Linked DNA regions of Homo sapiens: all the other regions are linked to region 6. The links are contacts of gene promoters, found by promoter capture Hi-C in blood cells and fetal thymus (Javierre and others, 2016). All regions are on one chromosome and are shown on one strand. The core of a region is centred on a gene start or on the middle of the fragment in contact, and the rest is flanking DNA. Distances in the headings are between cores, read along the strand shown.

The links. The method cuts DNA at HindIII sites, captures the fragments that hold promoters and counts their contacts. A CHiCAGO score of 5 or more calls a contact.
Region 1: a contact is called between a fragment that was not itself captured here and the fragment with the promoter of PRSS35 in region 6, in 7 of 17 cell types (megakaryocytes, M2 macrophages, M1 macrophages and 4 more). The highest score is 21.3, in megakaryocytes.
Region 2: a contact is called between a fragment that was not itself captured here and the fragment with the promoter of PRSS35 in region 6, in 6 of 17 cell types (M1 macrophages, M0 macrophages, megakaryocytes and 3 more). The highest score is 8.9, in M1 macrophages.
Region 3: a contact is called between a fragment that was not itself captured here and the fragment with the promoter of PRSS35 in region 6, in 2 of 17 cell types (M0 macrophages and monocytes). The highest score is 6.7, in M0 macrophages.
Region 4: a contact is called between a fragment that was not itself captured here and the fragment with the promoter of PRSS35 in region 6, in 3 of 17 cell types (megakaryocytes, M0 macrophages and endothelial precursors). The highest score is 7.9, in megakaryocytes.
Region 5: a fragment that was not itself captured here is called in contact with the fragment with the promoter of PRSS35 in region 6 in 3 of 17 cell types (megakaryocytes, M1 macrophages and M0 macrophages); the score reaches 7.1 in megakaryocytes.
Region 7: a fragment that was not itself captured here is called in contact with the fragment with the promoter of PRSS35 in region 6 in 5 of 17 cell types (M1 macrophages, M2 macrophages, M0 macrophages and 2 more); the score reaches 10.7 in M1 macrophages.

The regions. Positions count from the first base shown.
Region 1 is chr6:83,239,427-83,242,293 of GRCh38, forward strand. It overlaps ME1 (malic enzyme 1), which reads right to left. Exons shown (of 14, transcript NM_002395.6): 8 at 113-210. Among named protein-coding and RNA genes, the nearest start is that of RWDD2A, 48 kb to the left of the region's middle. The HindIII fragment of the contact is 2,103 bases long and covers 268-2,370 here.
Region 2 is chr6:83,178,457-83,181,513 of GRCh38, forward strand. It overlaps PGM3 (phosphoglucomutase 3), which reads right to left. Exons shown (of 13, transcript NM_015599.3): 7 at 1,354-1,511; 8 at 217-300. Among named protein-coding and RNA genes, the nearest start is that of PGM3, 13 kb to the right of the region's middle. The HindIII fragment of the contact is 1,054 bases long and covers 1,118-2,171 here.
Region 3 is chr6:83,143,040-83,145,801 of GRCh38, forward strand. DOP1A (DOP1 leucine zipper like protein A) reads left to right here. Exons shown (of 39, transcript NM_015018.4): 25 at 2,485-2,619. Among named protein-coding and RNA genes, the nearest start is that of PGM3, 49 kb to the right of the region's middle. The HindIII fragment of the contact is 894 bases long and covers 909-1,802 here.
Region 4 is chr6:83,081,157-83,084,043 of GRCh38, forward strand. All of the region lies in intron 1 of DOP1A (DOP1 leucine zipper like protein A), which reads left to right. Among named protein-coding and RNA genes, the nearest start is that of DOP1A, 15 kb to the left of the region's middle. The HindIII fragment of the contact is 2,091 bases long and covers 552-2,642 here.
Region 5 is chr6:83,098,052-83,101,004 of GRCh38, forward strand. DOP1A (DOP1 leucine zipper like protein A) reads left to right here. Exons shown (of 39, transcript NM_015018.4): 4 at 2,654-2,835. Among named protein-coding and RNA genes, the nearest start is that of DOP1A, 32 kb to the left of the region's middle. The HindIII fragment of the contact is 323 bases long and covers 1,265-1,587 here.
Region 6 is chr6:83,511,183-83,514,100 of GRCh38, forward strand. PRSS35 (serine protease 35) reads left to right here and starts at 1,352. Exons shown (of 2, transcript NM_153362.3): 1 at 1,352-1,512. The HindIII fragment of the contact is 1,326 bases long and covers 645-1,970 here.
Region 7 is chr6:83,197,842-83,200,931 of GRCh38, forward strand. RWDD2A (RWD domain containing 2A) reads left to right here. Exons shown (of 3, transcript NM_033411.5): 3 at 1-1,094. Among named protein-coding and RNA genes, the nearest start is that of RWDD2A, 6.0 kb to the left of the region's middle. The HindIII fragment of the contact is 3,139 bases long and covers 1-2,935 here.

The DNA.
Region 1 (2,867 bases), core at 69-2,568, 270 kb before region 6:
AGTCATAATATACTAAAAATTTGAAAGAATACGTCAAATCTTGAGTTAATGAGCAATTAACACTAATTATATGTTAGTTTAGGAGAACATAAGTATTACACAAGGCAAATACCTCTCCAGCTCCTTGGAATAGTATTGTTTGATCAGACAGTTTGTTCTTGGTTATTCGAAGAGCTGCAAGGAGACCTGCAACTGCAACAGATGCTGTTCCTGAAACAAGTAATAAATATCCTTGAGTAATCCTCAAACAGATCCTGCCAATTTTCAAGCTTTTATTCACAACTTGAAATAATCATAAAACAGGTTAACTGGTACAGAAGAGAAACCTGTGGTTGTCTTATCCCATGCTTGCATACGTGGTAAAATTCCCAGGCTACTGACATCAATATTTTAAGATAGCAGCTTACTACTATTCTTGAAAACTTCCCTAAAAGAAGATTCTGTGACTTATCTTAGTGACATAATCAATGAAAGGATGGGATCTGGATTCCTCAGATTCTAGCTCAACAACCCACTGACTAGCTGAAAGAATTTAGAGAAATTATTGTGTACATCAAATAGATAGTTTCCTCATCTGTAAAGTAGTTTTACTTTATGATATAAAAGAGTAATAAGTGCTATTAGATTCTTCCGTCTAATTACTCTTGGGGTTTTGAAATCTATTAATGATCCCCTTCACACAAAGAAGGCTTCACACAAAGAAACTCTTCTTCACACAAAGTAGGCTTCACACAAAGAAACTCTTCTTCACACAAAGAAACTCTTAATGTAAGAGTTTCAGAACCTGAGATAGGAGGACACAAATAGTAAATTCTTGCTGATGATGGTATTGGTGCTCATAATATTTTTGATACATTTGGAATTTAATGTTAATGGCAAGTAAAATCTAATTATATTGTATCATTTAATAGACTTTTTACCTATGAAAATCACTGGTGGATCCCAAAGGTACTAGACAAAACTAATGCAAAATTTCTTAAGATAAAAATTATATTTTCCTCATCATGTCTCATAGGCATAAAAACTTCACCAGTTCCAATTATATTACTTTACCATATAAGCATTCACAGATCACAAAGCAGTTCTCTTGCTTTAAGTGTAATTACACAGCTCAACTTCTTTATGGCTAATAAAGCAGCAGCTTCTTGCAACACTTTCCAGCTGTATCTATACTTTACTCCTCCAAGGTAACATTCTACCTATAATGTTTCCTACATCACTCAGCTGGGTAGTAAAGCCTAGCTAAACGTTAAATACCCTTATTTAACATTATGGTTAAAACAAAGATTAGACTAGGTTTGATGAATGACACAACGATGAAGCGTTATGTATGTCAAGTATCAAAGGTAATCAACATTTCACAATCAGTAAATTTGTTCTATTCAATCTTTTAGTTTCTTTCTTGTATAATTAGGTAGCCGCAAATAAGAACACAATAAACAATAATTGTTGAAGGCCTGTTAGTCCCATATGTGCCTTTTCTTTAGGATCACAATGTGTACTACAAAAATAAAATGCATGCAATTTAGAGTCACTATTGCAATAATTATGAACTGTGCTAAGTCATATATTATGAAAAAGCCACTCTTCTATACATTACTTAAGGTGAAAATCTATGCAAAAAATATGGCTAGTGTATGTAGAGAATATATCATGACATGATTAGAATGATATTTTCCCCATGCAAGATATATTCACTAGAGTCATTAAACAGATGAAAGAGAATTTAAACTAGAAAGAGAGGTATAGATATCCACTTACTAAATAAGAAGTTATTCAGAAATAGTAGCTCAAGCTATCTCTCTCTTGGGTTCTTTTGAAGTAAACTGCCCAGAAGTTTGGATCTGGGGAACTCTAAGCTCCCTTCCAACTCTGAGATTCTATGATTTTAAGGGTTTCTATAAGATTTAACCAATTGAAGCATCAAAGTTGAAGTATCATCAGCAATCACTGTATTTGTATTATTATTTTTATTTACATCGAATTGGACACTTACGGTCAGATAGACAGAAAATATTCTAAAATATCCTATTTGGTACCTTAATTTCATATGGTTATGCTAGATCACTTAAAACTCAAAATGTGTTAAGTTCATACATTATATTTAAAGATATATTTCATAATATTTCCTGAGAACACAATGAAAACACTAATCTTCCATTTATAGAATTAATTAATAAAATCAGAAAGATATTTTTAGCACTATCAAAAATTTAACTTGAACATGATTCTTGTACATGGCCTGGTACTACCTTGATTTAAATTTCATTGCAGAGAAGGGAATACATGTAGAAAATTGAAATTTCATAAAACTGTAAATTTTTACAATAAATTATTCCATAATAAGTTTTACTTTAAGATTTAAAACTAAGCTTTTTATAAGTCAGACAGAATTCGTGCTTAGGTTTATCTTCATACTATCAGTTTTTGTATTTATTTTTATTTTTTTATTTTGAGTCAGCGTCTTACTCTGTCACCCATGCTGGAGTGCAGTGGCGCGATCCTGGCTCACTGCAGCGTCCATCTCCCAGGTTCAAGCGATTCTTCTGCCTCAACCTCCCAAGTAACTAGGATTACAGGCACCCACCACCATGCCTGGCTAATTTTTGTATTTTTAGTAGAGACAGCGTTTTGCCATGTTGGCCAGACTGGTCTCACACCCCTGACCTCAGGTGATCTGCCCGCCTCAGCCTCCCAAAGTGCTGGGATTACAGGCGTGATGAGCCACTGAGCCCCGCCTGTACTATCAGTTTTAAAGAGGACTTAACACTGTTAGCAAGATACTAAACAGATCGAATTTTTCTTAACATTTTAGAAACTTACGACTTTAACATAAACATAAACATAACAACATATGGTTGTTAAAT
Region 2 (3,057 bases), core at 395-2,894, 330 kb before region 6:
TTTCTAAAGGAAAACTCCAAGAAAAGGAAGGAAAGAAGTTTTCCTTTATTCATCAAGGACAACTAAATTTTTTCTTATTTATTTCTCTTTACCTTTACATGAACAGCAGCTCAGCTTCATGCACTACAACATAATCACTTTTATGAGGGCAGTATCTTTCTCACAGAAACATGATCTTAATTAAGAAACTACCAGAAAACAAAAATGGTTCAATACCTTCATAACTTCTTCAAGATACCGTGTTGAACTTCCATTTGCATATGCAGTTTGTACAACACCAATATTCAAACTTTCTCCAATCTAGACAAAAACAATGATACTTAACTTGCCATCAAAAGTATGGTCTACAAAAACAAATATAATGAGAGTTCTAAAGGCTACCAAAATTATCAGCCAGTTCAGTTGTGCCTTAGTTTATGCCAAAAATGTCTGACTGAAAATTTACATGTATGCCAGGAAAAAAGCCTAAAATACATTTGAACACTATTTAAAACAATTCTATGAGAATTCCTCTTTTAAGAAGCCTGTATCTCCTGATCTTCACCTCTTTAATTTTTTAAATAAAAGTATCTGGCCAGGCACGGTGGCTCACGCCTGTAATCCCAGCACTCTGGGAGGCCAAGGTGGGTGGATCACCTGAGGTCAAAAGTTCGAGACCAGCCTGGCCAACATGGTGAAACCCCATCTCTACTAAAAGTACAAAAATTAGCCAGGTGTGGTGGCATGCATCTGTAATCCCAGCTACTTGGGAGGCTGAGGCAGAAGAATTGCTTGAGCCCAGGGAGGCAGAGGTTGCAATGAGCCGAGATCACGCCCCTGCACTCCAGCCTGGGCAACAGAGCAACACTGTCTCAAAAAAAAAAAAAAAAAAAATCTATTAAATTCTTAAAGTATGCTGTTTCCAGATTATAATAATTTCCAATTACATTGTGTACTTAAAGCTAGCCTGAGATTTATTTCTAAAATAGCAAAATGAAACAAATCTCACATTACTAAGCTTATCATAATCAGTTAATATATCAGATGATGAGATTTCCTATTAGAATTTAGGGCTTTTATGGAGTGACCACAGAACTGTCATCAAAGTTTCAATTATGATGGAAGCAAAACTTCCTAAAGCTTCAAATCACAAAACTCAGCCAGTATAAGGAGGAAAAGAGTACCTTCAGGTTCCAAAGCCAATGCCTCAAATGTTCAAATGACTGGGTATTACCACTGCTCTTTTTTTAATTTTCTGCCCACTAATGTAAAGAATTTGTCATAAATTGTGCCCTTCTGACAAATGATTGTAAAATATGGAACTATTTCACTACTAAGTCTTGTTTTAGAGGGTAGCCAATCCCCCCACCATACCTCCACCAGGAGCTCTTTAAGGAAACTGCTAATTAACGTTGCTATCTTGTCTCCATCTATGAGATGAAAGTGGCCATCTGCATCATGGTAGTAATAAACAATTCTGTCTGCATCTCCATCAAAAGAACAGCATCTTTCATTGGACTTAATTTCCATTCCTAGCACACAGGATAATTTAACATGCATTTCAGTCTAAGAATTTATTATAAAGAGTTTTAGAATTTTCTCTTAAAATTATCCACCTAAAAATCAATGTCTTAATCTTAAATAGTGTATAATCTTTAAATAGTACATAGTTTATTAGTGGTTTTTACAGGTCAAATTCTTTCACTGCAAAGTGAAAAAAGGAGCATTCAAAATCTATGCTGATATTTGCTATAATACTACCATAAAATTCCACTTTATAAGCAGGTTGGTTTGGCTAGACAGGTGTCCCATAAAGGTTTTTTGAAAGCTACATGTATTTCTGAATGTAATTTACCTAGGACCGTGATCTCCTTTACATAGAAAAAATAATCAGCACTAGATGATGTATGTGCTTTAATTCTAACAGAAATGATTTTTATTTGTTCATACCACCAATAAAAAGAAACACTGATAATTAAGAGCAAAGAATTATAACTTTGAGAGATAACTGGCCTGTGAAATTTACATAAAGTTGCTGAAATCTCAGCAATTGTCACATCAAATTTATTAGAAAATTTGGCTATTCCTTAGCCATGACAGCAGCAGAGTGACAAATTCAACATGAGACAACTAAGAAGTAAAAGGCTTTTGTCAGGAATGGGATCATAAGATTGATGAAAGGACATGATGCAAGCTTCAGGAAAGCAAGGACTATGGTTTTGTTCATACTGTAGTCCCAAAGCCTAGAGCATAGAGAGTAAGAGCTCAGTATTTAAGAAATGGATAAATAAGTGGCAGAACTGAACTGTCAAGTAAATGTCAAAACAAGCAATTCAATGAAAAGGAGCTCAAATTGGTTGACTACACTGACATTTTAAATGCTTACTAAGTAAAGCATAATAACATGAATGAATGAGGCAACTGGATGAAGTCTGTAGAGTTCCAGAATGCATGTCCTATTTTAGGGGAGCAGCATCTATCTGACTGTAGTGGACTAATGCCATGTGTGAACATTTTCTGATTTTGGTAAAGAGATGCTAGAGATTCCAATATATAAGAGAAGTCACGGAATTTTTAAACAGTGGCACACAGACAAACACACAAATGCAGCCAGCCAAACAAAACATATCTGCAAGTCAGGTTTGGCCTAAGCAAATAATTTAGGGTCTATAATGCAGATAAATCCAGAACACCTCTTACTACAACTAAAATCTGAAGAAAAGTCTTCCTCCTATTCTGCACTGAGTGGAAAACACTGATTGCTAACAACTGTATAAGCAGAGTTACATTTGCTTTCCATAGTGTATTTAATTCAGATAAGGTATCTAATAATACTTACTATGCTCCCCTGTAGATCTGTGATTCTCAAAAAGGGATCCCCAGACAAGCACTGGGAACAAAGCCTGCAAACTTGATAGAAATGCAAATTTCTATCATATGCAAATCCTATGCCAGACCTCCAGAAACTCAGAAGTGGAGCCCAGGAATCTGTGTGCTAACAAGCCCTCAAAGTGATTCTGACACATGCCAGTTTGAGAACCACTGCTCTAGAATGCCATTTCCTGACTTTGCTTTCCC
Region 3 (2,762 bases), core at 106-2,605, 370 kb before region 6:
GTGAAGATTCAGTAGTAGATATCACTCACATTGAAAATTTAAATCCTGGACTACTTAAAAGCAGTAAAGAACATTTGATTTAACATGGCATGTTGAAGCCAGGCACAGTGGCTCATAGCTATAATCCCAGCACTTTGGGAGACCAAGGCGGGAGGATTGCTTGAGGCCAAGAATTCAAGACCTCATGAGACCCTGTCTCTACAAAAAATAAAAATAGTGAAGTGTGGTGGCATTTGCCTGTAGACCTATCTACTCAGGAGGCTGAGGCAGGAGAATTATCAGGTATATTACAGCTGATAATATGTAATTCACATAGAGCAATGCCTAGCACTTAATAATCACTGTGTAAATATTAGCTATATTATTCCTCATATTTAAATAGAAATAGAGAGCCAAGGATTACCAGTCACATAAAGTCTCTAATGTGATAGACAGACTGAAACAACTAGATTTTAAAAAGTCAAACAGTGCAGATAACAGAAGAAAATGTAAATAATAGTAATGTCCTTAAGTGGGTGAGACCATGAAGTAGAAAGGGAGATCATAGGAAAGACCATTCCCAAAATTAAAATTTTTCATGGATATTAAAAATTCTGCAACAGAAACAAAGCAATATTTTTAGGAGGGTTGGAACAGAAAGTGGATAAATATCAGAAATGGAATACAAATTTAAAGATACGGAAAATACGAGAAAAGAGATAAGAATATTAGAGGAGTGATACTAGAGACCCAGTATCTTTCTGCAGAATTTAAAAACAAGAGGAGAAAAATACAAAGAAATAATACAATAAAAGTCCTCAGGAATGAAGTAAATATGTTTCCAGATTGTGCCTACCACTGTGAAAAGAGATCTGCACAAAGATTAGCATGTAATTTCAAAACACTGGAGATAAAGAAGAGATCCTAAAAGCTTCTAATGAAAGAATACTGGTCACATTCCAAAGAATAAAGATGAGATTTGTTAACAGCAACACTGGGAATTTTGATGGGAAGTTAGTTTCAACCCATAATTCTATCTCCAGCCAAACTGTCACTCAAACATTTTCAGCTATGCAATGTCTCAACAACAACAACAACAAGGAAAATTGCCATGAGTTCACTTTTTCTTGGCTACTGGAAGATGTAACTCCACCGGAGGAGGAATAAACCAAGAATGAAGAAGACAGGGGATCCAAGAAATGGGCTGCAACACAAAAGAGAAAGCAAGGGGAATCTCTGGGATAATGGTAACAGGAGAGATATCAAGATGACACTGTGTAGCAAACCTAGAGAGTATCAACCCAGGGTAGAATAAAAAGACATCTAACAGAAATGTCTCAAGGAAAAAAGAGAAGAGAGGGAGGAAAAGATACAAATTAATTACCTGAAGTATTTGAATATGTAATTAGAGATTTACAGTTGAAGTATGTAGGGATGAATTTTTAATAGGTACAGAGAAAATGAAGCAAACAAAGCAGTTTATTAGCTCTAGGAAAAACAAAAAGTTGTACCATAAAACAAATGCAATGCTAGTACAATGCACATTGCAACCAAAAATAATCATGTGAACATTGGATATGGATTTAAATAAAAATATGATATAACAATGTTGAGAGGATAGGTAGAAAAGTATAAGAGAGCTACATCTTTGTCTTCCAAAATAAGTAATGAATAGATAATGTCTAAAATTGAAAATAAAATCAGGAAATAGGAAAAATAGTAGTATATGTTATTTAGACGTAATGGAAAAGAACATAAAGAGTTGAGCATGGTTGCTTTGGGGCATGGGAAGGGATATAGGACAATACTATTTTTTCTTATAAAGCTTATTGTTCTGTTTTATTTTTTGAGGTGATGTACCTTTATTGATGAAAAATAAATAAATTTTGAGCCTGGGCAACATAGGGAGACTCTGTCTCCACAAAAAAATTAAAAAATTATCTGGGCATAGTGGCATGCCTGTGGTCTCAGCTACTCAGGAGGCTGAAGCAAGAGGATCGCTTAAACCTATGAGGTTGAGGCTGCAGTAAACTGTAATTGAGCCACTGCACTCCAGCCTTGGAGACAGAGCAAGACCCCATCTCAAAAAATATATACATATATTGTATATATATATATATATGCAAATTTTACTTTTATATATATAATATATATATTTAAAAGTATATATATAATATATATATATAATAATATATATATATATAATATATATATATATAAGTAAAATTTGCCTAAAGTAGTCAAGGGACTTGAAGAGGTCTTTATATTAAATAGAGGCCAGGGCTGGGTGCAGTGGCTCATGCCTGTAATCCTAGCACTTTGGGGGGCTAAGGCAGGAGGATCATTTTGAGCACAGGAGTTTGAGACCAGGCTGGGCAAAATAGCAAGACCTCATCTCCATTTAAAAAATATAAAAAAAGAAGAGATCATAAAATACTCTCTTCTGTAACTTCCCCTAAAAGACTTATATACATACATACATACATACAATGATTTATTACCTAGGTCATTCCTGCAGCCAGTGAAGAACAGCTTTTATTAGTGGAATTGGTTCGTTCAATCAGTGTCATGAGAGCAGAAACTGTTATCCAGACTGTAAAAGAAGTTTTAAAGCAGCCACCAGCCATAGCCAAGGACAAGGTAAGAAAAAACTCTTCTTCACATGTGTTTACAATTCTGTTTCAGAAATTATGCTGGTAAGATTTTTTTTTGTACAATAATGTCCTTTCAATATAGTACAGATTGCAGAGATGACTGCATGTGGCCCTCACACTGCTTCAATC
Region 4 (2,887 bases), core at 347-2,846, 430 kb before region 6:
TGTTGCCCGGGCTGGGGTGCAGTGGTGTGATCTCACCTCACTGTGGCCTCTGCCTCCAGGTTCAAGCGATCCTCCTGAGTAGCTGGGATTACAGGCATGCACCACCATGCCCGGCTAATTTTTGTATTTTTAATAGAGACAAGGTTTCACCATGTTGGCCAGGCTGGTCTCCAACTTCTGGCTCAAGTGATCCACCCACCTCAACCTCCCAAAGTGCTGGGTTTACAGGTGTGAGCCACCATGCCCAGCCCTACAACCAACTGGTTTTTGACAAAGGCAACAGTAATACACAGTGGGGCAAGGACATTCTCTTCAGTAAATCGTGTTGGGAAAACTGGATAAACTGCAGAACAAAATTAGACCCTTATCTCTCACCATATACAAAAATCATCTTGGGTTATAAAAAAAAATAGGACCTGAAACTATGAAACTACTAGGAGAAACAAGAAAAGCTATGTGACATTGATCTGCACCATGATTTTGTATCTATGATCTTAAAAGCACAGGCAACAAAAGCAAAAATAGACAAATGGGGTTATATGAAATTAAAAAGCTTCTGCACAGCAAAGGAAACAATTAGCAGAGTAAAGAGACAACCTACTTACAGGATGGGAGAAAATATCTGCACACCATACATCTGATAAGGGGTTAATATCTAAAATATATAAGGAACTCAATAGCAAGTAAACAACTTGATTTTAAAATATGCAAAAGACCTGAGTAGACATTTCCTAAAGGAAGACATAAATGGCCAACAGGTATATGAAAAAAGGCTCAACGTCACTAATCATCAGGTAACTGCAAATCAAAACTAAAATGAGATATCATCTCACTCCTGTTAGAATTGCTGTTATCAAAAAGACAAAAGGTAAGTGTTAGAGAGGATGTGGAGAAAAGGGAACACACTGTTGGTGGGAATGTAAATTAGTATAGCCATTATGGAAAACAGTAAGGAGGGGCCTCAAAAAATGAAAAAAATAGAACTACCATATGATTCTGTAATCCCACTACTGAGTATATATCCAAAGAAAATGAAATCAGTATGTCAAAGAGAGAAGTGCACATAAACAGCAGTATTCACATAGCCAAGATATGGAATCAGCCTAGGGGTCTATCAGCAGATGAAGGGGCAAAGAAAATATGGTTTATATACATGATGGAATGCTATTCACCTATCAAAAAGCAAAATTCTGTTCTTTGCAATAACATGGATGAACCTAGAGGACACTGTGTTAAGTGAAATAAGCAAAGCACAGAAAGATAAATGCTGCATGATCTCACCCAATATGTAAAACCTAAAAAGTATATCCCATAGAAGTAGAGAATAGAATGGTGCTTACCAGCGGCTGGGGTGGTTTGAGGAAATGACAGGATGGAAGAATGTTAGTCAAAGGATATATAGTTAGGAGGAGTAAGTTCAAGGAATCTGTTGTACAGCATAGTGGCTATGGTTAATGATGATATGTTCTTGAAAAATACAAAGAGTAGTAAGTGTTCTTACCACAAAAATGACAACTATTTGAGGCAATGCATTTGTTAATTAGCTACATTTAACCATTACACAGTGTGTATATACTTCAAAACATTATATTGTACATAATACAATTTTATCTGTCAATTTGAAATAAGCTACATGTCTCTTTTTTAAACCCACTTTTTTTTTTTTTTTGAGACCGAGTTTTGCTCTGTCACCCAGGCTGGAGTGCAGTGGTGCGGTCTCCACTCACTGCACCCTCTGCCTCCTGGGTTCAAGCAATTCTTCTGCCTCAGCCTCCCAAGTAGCTGGGATTACAGGTGCCTGCCACCACGCCCAGCTAATTTTTGTATTTTTATTAGAGATGGGATTTCACCATGTTGGCCAGGCTGGTCTCAAACTCCTGACCTCAGGTGATCCACCCGCCTCAGCCTCCTGAAGTGCTGGGATTACAGGCATGAGCCACCATGCCTGGCCAAAAACCCACTCTTTTATAGATAACAACCAAAAATAAAAACTTCTGTATCAGAATCATGATCATTTTTGCCTTATATTTTAAACACTATCAGTATTGAGTGGTGAACCACTTGGGGTATTTTGAGTTGAGCTTTGGTCCCTGTGCTTCATTCAAGGTCTAGGAAGAATAACATATGTATTTACATTATTATAGTTTTTTTTTAAGTACAATTTCTAAGAAAGAAATCTATATAGCCGGAAAAGTTTTTTGAAAAAAGTTAATGAGAGAGGAGAGGTAGAATATGTCATGCAGGAGAATTAAGACTTGTGGTTTAAAAAAAAAAAAAAAAGTTCAGAAAGATACTGATTAAGGGCCAATTCCAGGAGTCAGTCTGCCAGAGTTCTTCCTGGTTCTTCCTTTTATTCTCTGTGGCACCTTGAACACTAATTGCCTTATATGAACATGGATTCATGTGTATATCTACCTCATGGATGTATTGTGAAGATACATGAGATAATTCACATGAAAGGGCTTAGTATAGTGCCTGGCACAGAGTAATTTGTAAGTCAGTATCAACTGTGATTATTATCATCATCTTGAGTAATACGTGGACAATGTTTATTTGGCTACTATGCTTTGGAGACAGGATGATCCTTTGTAACTCAAGGGTATGTGCTTAAGTGTTTATTATTATGGCTGTTTGCCATTTGAAGCTTAAAGTAGAATCCCACCTACCTGCTAATGGCTCATTCCAAGTTATAAATGGTGCTTATGTTTTGTATTTTCTAAAATTAATATTTTCATATTGCTATGTGTACCAGAAATCACAGAATTTGAAATGAGAAAGAATCTGATTTTATAGCATTCAGAGACAATTTTTAATAACGTATATAATTTTGTGTATATTTACTTGGTAAAAAAAGAAATCGTAAAGTTAAATCAGCTTCACTGTCACC
Region 5 (2,953 bases), core at 176-2,675, 410 kb before region 6:
GGCTAGTTATTTTTTTAGAGATAGGATCTCGCTATGTTGACCAGGGTGGTCTTGAACTCTTGGCCTCAAATGATCCTCCCACCTCAGCCTCCCAAAGTGCTGGGATTACAGGCATTAGCCACTATACCCAGCCTATCAAATAGCTTAACATACAAATTAGGAAAGAAGTTTGTCTTAAAATACATACTAAGATGTGTGGGGGAAGAAAACACAGATAGTTTTTCCTCTGCTCTCACCACGACAATCAATGCAGAAGATTTCTATAACCCTAAAACAAGTGGTTATTTCTCCCTTACCAGCAAGCAAGCAGTTCTACAGTAGATACCAGCTGGATGTGCTGCAGTTCAATTTGGACACTATCTACCTGGAGATAGTATCAGATCCCACAGGTTGAGGGCTGAGCCTCATAAGACTGTCCTCCTGTTTTGATGCCAATCACAAGCCCTAGTTTGTTTTACCTGTGCTTCTGATCAACTGGCTATAAAGTTCCACAATCCTTTCTTTAGCTTTAATTTGCTAGAGCGGCTCACAGAGCTTAGGGTACTGGTTCATTATAAAGGACATTACAAAGGATACAAGTGAAGAGATGCATAGTGTGAGGTATGGGTGAAGGGACGTAGAACTTTCATGCCCTCCTCAGGAGTGCCACCCTCCAGGAACCTCCGCATGTGTTCAGCTGGCCTGGACACTCTCTAATCATCCTTTTGGGCCTTTTGAGACTTCATTGGATAGGCATGATTGAAGCATGGACAGCTGTGTAGAAATGTGATAGGAAAGAAAAGATATGATGTAATACTAACAGACTAAGTGGGGGAACCCAGCAAGGCCCGTCTGTCAGATTTTTCTTGGCCTCTCTACAGCATTCCTTCCTTCTGGGTATGGGGCAGGACCCCTTCTGAAATAGGGGTCTTTGACCTACAATGAGACCAAGTAGTCCAGAGAATTTTGTTACGGCCAGCTCCGAGACAGGGGAAGATTCCTGCCTTAGGGAGAAAAAGGAGATGAGAAGAGGGCAGGAAAAGTCAGAGAGAAATTGTTTTCTGAGGCCTGCTTCTGAGGCCCAAAGTTCCCCATATTATAATAAGGGCTGTGGGAGTTATGAGCCAGGAACCATGGATGAAAACCTACAGACACACTCTCACTCACAATACCACACCAGGACACTAGTTTTCAACCTGATACGACAGATAATCACTTTGATACCATAAAAAGAAAAGTTACCATTTTCAGTATGTCAAGGATTTGTCTTAAAATTTGATTCAGAAGCTTCTCTTTGATGTTAGAACTTCTAACATTTATCTTTTGAAGTTTGAATAATTCTTTATTCCTTTACAACATCCACAAGAAATTCCATCTAAAAGTACAAGTTTGCTTAAAGGTAGTTAGGTTCTTTTTTTTCCTAAAGAGTTTTGAAGAGTCTGTTTCTGAAGATATACTGGGAACTCTTTTTAAAGGCAAGTCATTAAATGATGGAAATTAATTTGCCTAATTAGGTACATAATTAGTTTTTTAGATTAACCAATATTCACAAAAGTAGATTTCATGGTATCTAGATAACTCAAAGAAGAATACCCAAGTTGTTTATGAAGCTTAGCCAAAATTGTGATAGAACAAGGCAAGGATTGCATATGTGTGTGTGTGTGTGTGTGTGTGTGTGTATATACATATATATATATATATACACACGTATACATATATATACACATACACATATATATATGCTCTATTACATATATATACTCATACCGCCTTTGATGGTCATTTCATATATTATGGCAAAAAAACACAATTACTTTTGCACTAACCTATTATTTCAACCTCAGTTTATTCTGTAAAATAAGACTTTGCATATTTCTTCTAAATTCCAGTTCTAACATAGTCTGTATTCATTCTGAGTCTTCACTTTGTGACATTCTATCAATACTTGATTATAATACTGACTTCTAGGTTCAAACTAAAGGATTACATTTATTATAAGATCTTCTTTACTTAACTAATCTCCTTTGAGTGGTTGGTAAGATAGGGTCTCTGTACAGAAATTCTGCCCTGACCATTATTTCTAAGGAAATGTTATGGTTGAATAAATAAAACAAAAAGTTGTTTTGTCCAGTTAGAAAAATCAGTTTATAAAAACAAATGGGCAATGATAATCTCATGTAGATTTTCTTATAAGCATTAGAATTACTTGCTGTAATTTGATATACTAGGACAATGGTTGTACCTCTTCCAAGTACTGTAAATATCTACTTTGAGGCCAGACTTTATTTCAAAGTAGCAAAAATGGATTGAAGGCTGTAACTTTCCATGTTACATGTTCATGTAACATTCCAGCTGTCTTCTCACATCAAATATTAAAAATTTACCAAAAAAAATCTAAAATACCTCTCTTCTCCATAAATTTGTTTTGGAAAATATCATTTTTCATTAAAAATGTTATTCTGTTAACAGGTAACGAGTTTATTTTTTAAACAAATTAATAAAGTTTGTAACATTTCCTCAGTTTTAATTTTAAATATGGTATATATAGGCAAATGTAGCTAACAAAACACAAAGACCTACAATGATCATTTTTTATAATACTATGCTAGAAAATGGAAGTAAAATGAATGCAATATTTTGTTTTTCTCAACTACATTAAAATGCTTTCTTCAAGGTTTTACAAAATAATGCAAAGTACCAAGTAGTACCCAAAAAGCTGACCATAGGCAAACGCCTAGCTCAATGTCTACATCCAGCATTACCAGGTGGAGTTCATCGGAAGGCGCTTGAAACATATGAAATTATCTTCAAAATAATTGGACCTAAGCGACTTGCCAAAGATCTTTTTTTATATAGGTAAGAATAATTTTACTATATATATACAAATAATATAAAGAAAATGTATTGCTAAACTATTTTATACTTTCTGCACTAAAAACTAAAAATTGAAAACTCCTTAGTGATTAGAAGTTTT
Region 6 (2,918 bases), core at 102-2,601:
ATATGACTATTATGATCTAATTGGTGACAGAGAGCTTCAGAACTAATTCTAACTGGTAAAAATTACCAATAGATTTTAATATATGGGTAAATGCTTATGTTAACAATGCTAAATGAGAAAACAGCAATGAAATTGTATATATAGTTGGCCCTTGGACACATATTTGAACTGCACAGGTCCACTTATACACAGATTTTTTTTTTCACCCAAAAGCGGATAGAAAACAGTATTTTCAGGCAGAAATGCTTAAACAGAGGGCAGACTTTTCCTATACGCGGGTTCCCCAGGGCCCACAGCTGGACTTGGACTTGAATATGGGATGATTTTAGTATGGGGGGGCGGAGGGGAAGAGGGCCTGGAACTAGTCCGTTGAGTATAACGAGGGACAATGCTAAGTATGTTATAATCTCATTAAAAGTACACAGAACTTGAGATACGCAATAACCTACTAACGAACCAAGTGTTACAAGACATGCTAAGACCTTGTGTTGTAAGTACTTGTGCACTTACTCGATCTCCCTGCTTTAGGGCCAGGACCGAGTTTTTTTGTTTTTGTTTTTGTTTTTGTTTATGTATTCTCTCGTTGTATCAGTTCATCTTGCCCCAGACCTGTCACCCACTAGAATTTGTTGTTAAACAAATGAAGCTTCCTTTCTCATGTGGCCCCCACCCCTCTCCTAAAGGAGAATAAAAGGTCGAGAGAACGGATGAGGTTAGAATGCTGGTGGGACTGAGATGGGAAAGGACCTTAAAGGTTACTCGCCCAAAGAGGAAAACCAGCCTTTTCCCTGCAGACGGAAACTGACGCGCTCCCCCTGGAGGCAGCGCAGGATGCTCCCGGGGGTCCAGGCGTCCCAGCCTGAGGTCCCCATCCTCGTGTGCAGCCTGGGCGCCTGGTACAAGTCGGGGTAACCCTGAGGCTTGTGCATCCAGAGAAGCTAGGTCCCCGGTGGAGACTAGCTTGGGATAAGGTTGGGGAGACGCCCTCCGTTCTTCTAGATGCCTGGGGTCTCAACAGCAAGCAGTGAGGAATGAGACTCTTAACTGAACAACTCCTGAGACTGTTAAAGGAGTGCATACTATTACAGGGACAGGCATCCCCTGTGAACCTACTCATGAATTTTTCCTAATGCTTAATTCAGCTTGGGGGCAGAAATGCTGGGGTGAGACACGGCCAGGTCCGCCCCGTTCCTCCAGGGAACTCCCCTCTCCGCCCTCCCTCTCCGTCTCCTCTTGCCCACCTCCTCCTCCTCCCCTCCCCCCACTCCATCCCACCGCGCCCGCCCCTCGTCATCGCCCCCTTTCCCCTCCCATCTCCCGGCCGTGGTGCGGCGCAGCTCTCTCCCCCTCCGCAGTCTCAGTGGCGAGCTCTGGGTGCTGTGGCCCGGCCTTGGCGGGGCGGCCTCCGGCTCAGGCTGGCTGAGAGGCTCCCAGCTGCAGCGTCCCCGCCCGCCTCCTCGGGAGCTCTGATCTCAGCTGACAGTGCCCTCGGGGACCAAACAAGCCTGGCAGGTAAAGATGAAGCTCCCCAAACCCAACAACCTTAGAACTTAGAAATTTCCCTGAGAAAGGCAGGACCTACCCGAGGAGAGCTTCTTTGAAGGACTTTGAAGAAAGGGATCAAACTTGACACTTTCTTTCAGTCCTCAAAGAAACTAACCACCCTTCCCATAGGCAATTCTGTGTGCCGGCCTCTGCACAGTTTAATATTAACGACAACAATGTTTGCATTGGAATATAAATGGAATTCTTTCTGCTTAAGCAGTACCAGAGGGGACCCTCTTTATTTTTATGATTGTTAACAGATGCCATTGAGAAAGGTATGAAACGCATTCCTGAAAAGTCTCTTTGGCGGGGTTACTATGAAAGCTAGCCTCTCCCCTCTACCCTTTTATCAACTTGGCTGCGGAGGTCAGCAAAAGGAGCATAGGAAAACGTTTAGAAAATGAGGCGGCGAAATGAAGTAGAAAAGCTTTTGACTTGCTTTGAAATACTCTAGCTGAAAAAAAAAAGTGTGTGGGGTGGTGATGGTGGATGAAACATTGGCAAAATATTGACAATAGTTGAAGCTGGTGATGTGCACATGGGGGTTGTACTTTTCTCTCAACTTAATACTTTTCTCTGTGCTTTTGTGTAGTCTTGAAATTTTCTATAATAAAAGGTTTTTTAAAAAGTTGTAGAAACACTCCCGCTTGATTGCTCTGACATTTTTACACTGTCCTTGATTTGAAAAGAAGCTGCTTGCTGTGTCTAGGGGGCTTTCACCCCTTATTAACCCTTCTGACTTCTGAAATTCATTCTTATTTTATCCGAAGTACATTTGTCTCCACAGAGGATTATAAAAGTCATATTTTGCTGGCTGGAGAATTATACTTAGAATCTGGTTTATAATTTAGAAGAGAGAATGTTAAAATCCCTGCCAAATAAGACATGTAGGCTTGAAGGTAGAGGCCAAGTATCATATGGAATTTTATTTTTATTAGGAAATATTAGAGGAGTTCCTTTAGTGAGGGAAGTGGTAGATGTGGATACTGTACCCCATTTTTCTTCCAGATAGCTGGGAAAACTGCATGCTTTTAAGAAGCTTTTTCACGTTTTAAAATGTGAGACTGTTTAGCATATACTTGGCATACAGTATGTGTTCATTAGATGTTAAAATAAGCAATTGCTAGTGTGAGTTAATTTTCTCCATTGGGTAAATGATTTTCCTCTGCCCAATGCTCAAATATCAAACAAGCATATTGCATTTTAACAGTAGGATCAGACTCAGAATTTGGGAGGATAGAGCTACTTTACCTTAGCACTGAGGTAACTTTGCAGATGAGAAATCTGAGATGGAGAGGTTAGGAAACAGTAAAGTTAAGTTAGTAGTATGCAAGCTATTATTTTATAACTAAAAAACGTTAAGCTTCGTATAG
Region 7 (3,090 bases), core at 116-2,615, 310 kb before region 6:
TACTGCCTCTTTCTTCTTAGGTCACAATGAGTGTCCTCTCAGGGCACAACTCAGATCTTCAACCCATGGCTCGCTGTAGGCCTGCCCCGCCAGGTCCTCCAGCTTGCCATTCATGTTTCCATCCTAGCCTTGGTTGTGCTGGAACTCAGGCTGGAGCCTGACACTTTGCCTATATGCAAAGGGAAGAAATAGGACTTACATTGCCAAGGAATCACTTCTTAATGTTTGCCAGCACTAAAAACAACAAAGTATAGGAATCTTTTTCCCCCACAGTCTCCACAAAGCTATCAATAAGTATAATTCGCATTTACAAGTTTTAGGCCTTCAACAGATGTAACTCCATCCAAATGAATCAATATGTGCCATCAACCTACCTTATAGAGGTGTTTTTCCTGATTACATGAGCAAAAGTAGCTACAGAAAGATGGGTGTAAAGAAAAGGCAATAAATTCTAGGTTATGAACTCTACTGCTTCTGGAGCTATTTCTGAGATTTTTCAGAACCTACTTTTTTATAAATAAGTCTAATTTGAGCATTCTGCAATACTTTTTTTCCTATCAGGAAAACTAATGCAGATAGTATTATGGGGACGTGTAGGTTTTATAGAAAAAAAAAGTACATGTATAATTCAAAACTCAACTTTGTATGTATAGGAGTCTGCTGGTTGTTTGCACAGCCTGATATGAGCACATAATAAAAGTCCGTCATTCCCCAACCCCCTCCCCCTACACACACAGCTTATTTTGGGAAACTGCCCCTTCCCTGTGTGATTTGGGAAGAGAAAGTGATAGGAATCAAGTTGTCCTCTGGCAGCCTCCTGGAGAGATGGCTGTGAGCTCTTGCTGCTTAAACCTCTAGTGCCACCCTCATTTCTGACCTACTGAATGCTCAGCTGTTTGGCATTTCCTTTGAATGACCCAGCATCTTCCCTTTTGTTGTCGGAAATCAGAATCAGTCTCTATTGCTTGTAACTTAAGAATCTGGATATTCTGTTTATTATATTCTTAAATGGTTATTTGGAAAATGTGCTCATTTATAAAAGTTACAGTGTCTTTTTAAAGTTTGCTGAAGTAAATGAAGCATATCGTCAAGTATGTTCTTTGCTTTTCATTCCTTACTGGTCTATTATGTGTTAGGCTAAGAGCTGAGGACACCTGCATAGTGAATTGAGTAGGCCAGATGAGTTGGCAGACCACAACACAGGGACCTCTAAAACATTCCTTATTAAATCAAACATACATTGCCTGTGAACTTGAGCGTTCACATATAACTCCTTACATGCCATCCATCCCCTCTCAGAACCTGAGAAGGTTCTGATGGTGTCTGTCTGCAGCCTTCATGGAACCCTTTTGAACAGGTTTTTTTCACTTGCTTTTATCTCAAGTAGCCCAGTAGTAAGTCAAAAGAATAGTTATTGTCTGAAGAGGGCACAGTGTTGCTCACACTTCCTGGTTTTATACATAATCCTGATTTGCCACAGAAACTCTGAGCCCATTGGCTTTCCCTCATAAGGTCCACATGGTGGAACTAATTTCACCATAGCCTGGACCAGCTAGAGAGACCTCTCTTTCTGATCCCAGTCAAAACTAGATGCATTTGGGTCAACCCCCGAATGAATTTGAGCAGGGTACACAGAATTTAAGTAAGCCCACTGTATTAGCTCATTCTTATGCTGCTAATAAAGACATACCCGAGACTGGGTAGTTTATAAAGGAAAGAGGTTTAATGGACTCACAGTTCCACATGGCTAGGGAGGCCTCACAATCACAGCAGAAGACGAAGGAAGAGCATAGGGATATGTTACATAGGGGCAGGCAAGAGATCTTGTGTAGGGGAACTCCCCTTTATGAAGCCACCAGATCTCGTGACACTTATTCACTACCACGAGAAGTATGGGGTAAACCACCCCCATGATTCAATTATCTCCACCTGGTCCTGTCCTTGACACATGGGGATTATTACTATTCAAGGTGAGATCTGGATAGGGGCACAGCCAAACCATATCACCCACCAAACCCTGGGAGTTCTCCTTAGTTATAGAAGGAACAAAGTACACAATTTGTTCCTCACAATGAAGGGGAAATCCCAGCATGTACCAGACACTGGACTTCTACAAAACTTGGCTGCAGGCTCTGTGCTTTCATGGGATTTATCGTTCACCCTCTGGGATGACACATCTTACTAGGCATCCAGGAAACATGACTCCATTCTCCAAGTCCAATCAGAATATCACCTGGAGGCATACAGCATGCTGCCCTGTATAGTGGTAAGCTGATCAAAGGTCTGATATCGAGACTGATATTCTGACATAGAAAGTTAATGTAATGTTGGAAAAAGACAATCTACATTGCTGCTTACTGAGATAAAGAAAATGCTTCAAGTGGTCTTTACTTACTGGAATAAAGGAAAAACAAAAAAGCATTGACCAAATCAGTAGCCAGCTACTTTCTGATTTGCTCCAAGAAAAAAGAACTTATATGACAGCAGCTGCAGTTGGAATCACCATCTGCTTAAGTTTCGGAATATGTGCAGCCATTCTATTTTTTTGAGACGGAGTCTTGCTCTCTCGCTCTGTCACTCAGGGTGGAGTGCAGTGGCCCAATTTCAGCTCAAAGCAAACTCTGCCTCCCGGATTCAAGTGATTCTCATGCCTCAGCCTCCCAAGTAGATGGGATTACAGGTGTATGCCACCACGCCTGGCTAATTTTTGTATTTTTAGTAGAGATGGTTTTTCGCCATGTTGGCCAGGCTGGTCTCGAATCCTGGCCTCAAGTGATCTGCCCATCTCAGCCTCCCAAAGTGCTGGGATTACGGGTGTGAGCCACTGAGCCCAGCCTGTGAAGTCATTCTTAGAGACCCATCTGTCTCCTCCTACATATGCCAAAGATCATGCTAAAGCAAGATGTGATAAGAATCACACTCCTGCTGCTTTCAAAGCTTTTGATGGTGGGACTCATCTCTGCAAATCTCTTCATACTTCCTGAGAGAATAACCCTCTTTTTATGGATCAGGGATCCAATGTGGGTATATTGCCACAGAGGATGAAGAAATAAATTATAACTCTTTACTGGAAAAATAAGTGGGGGATGG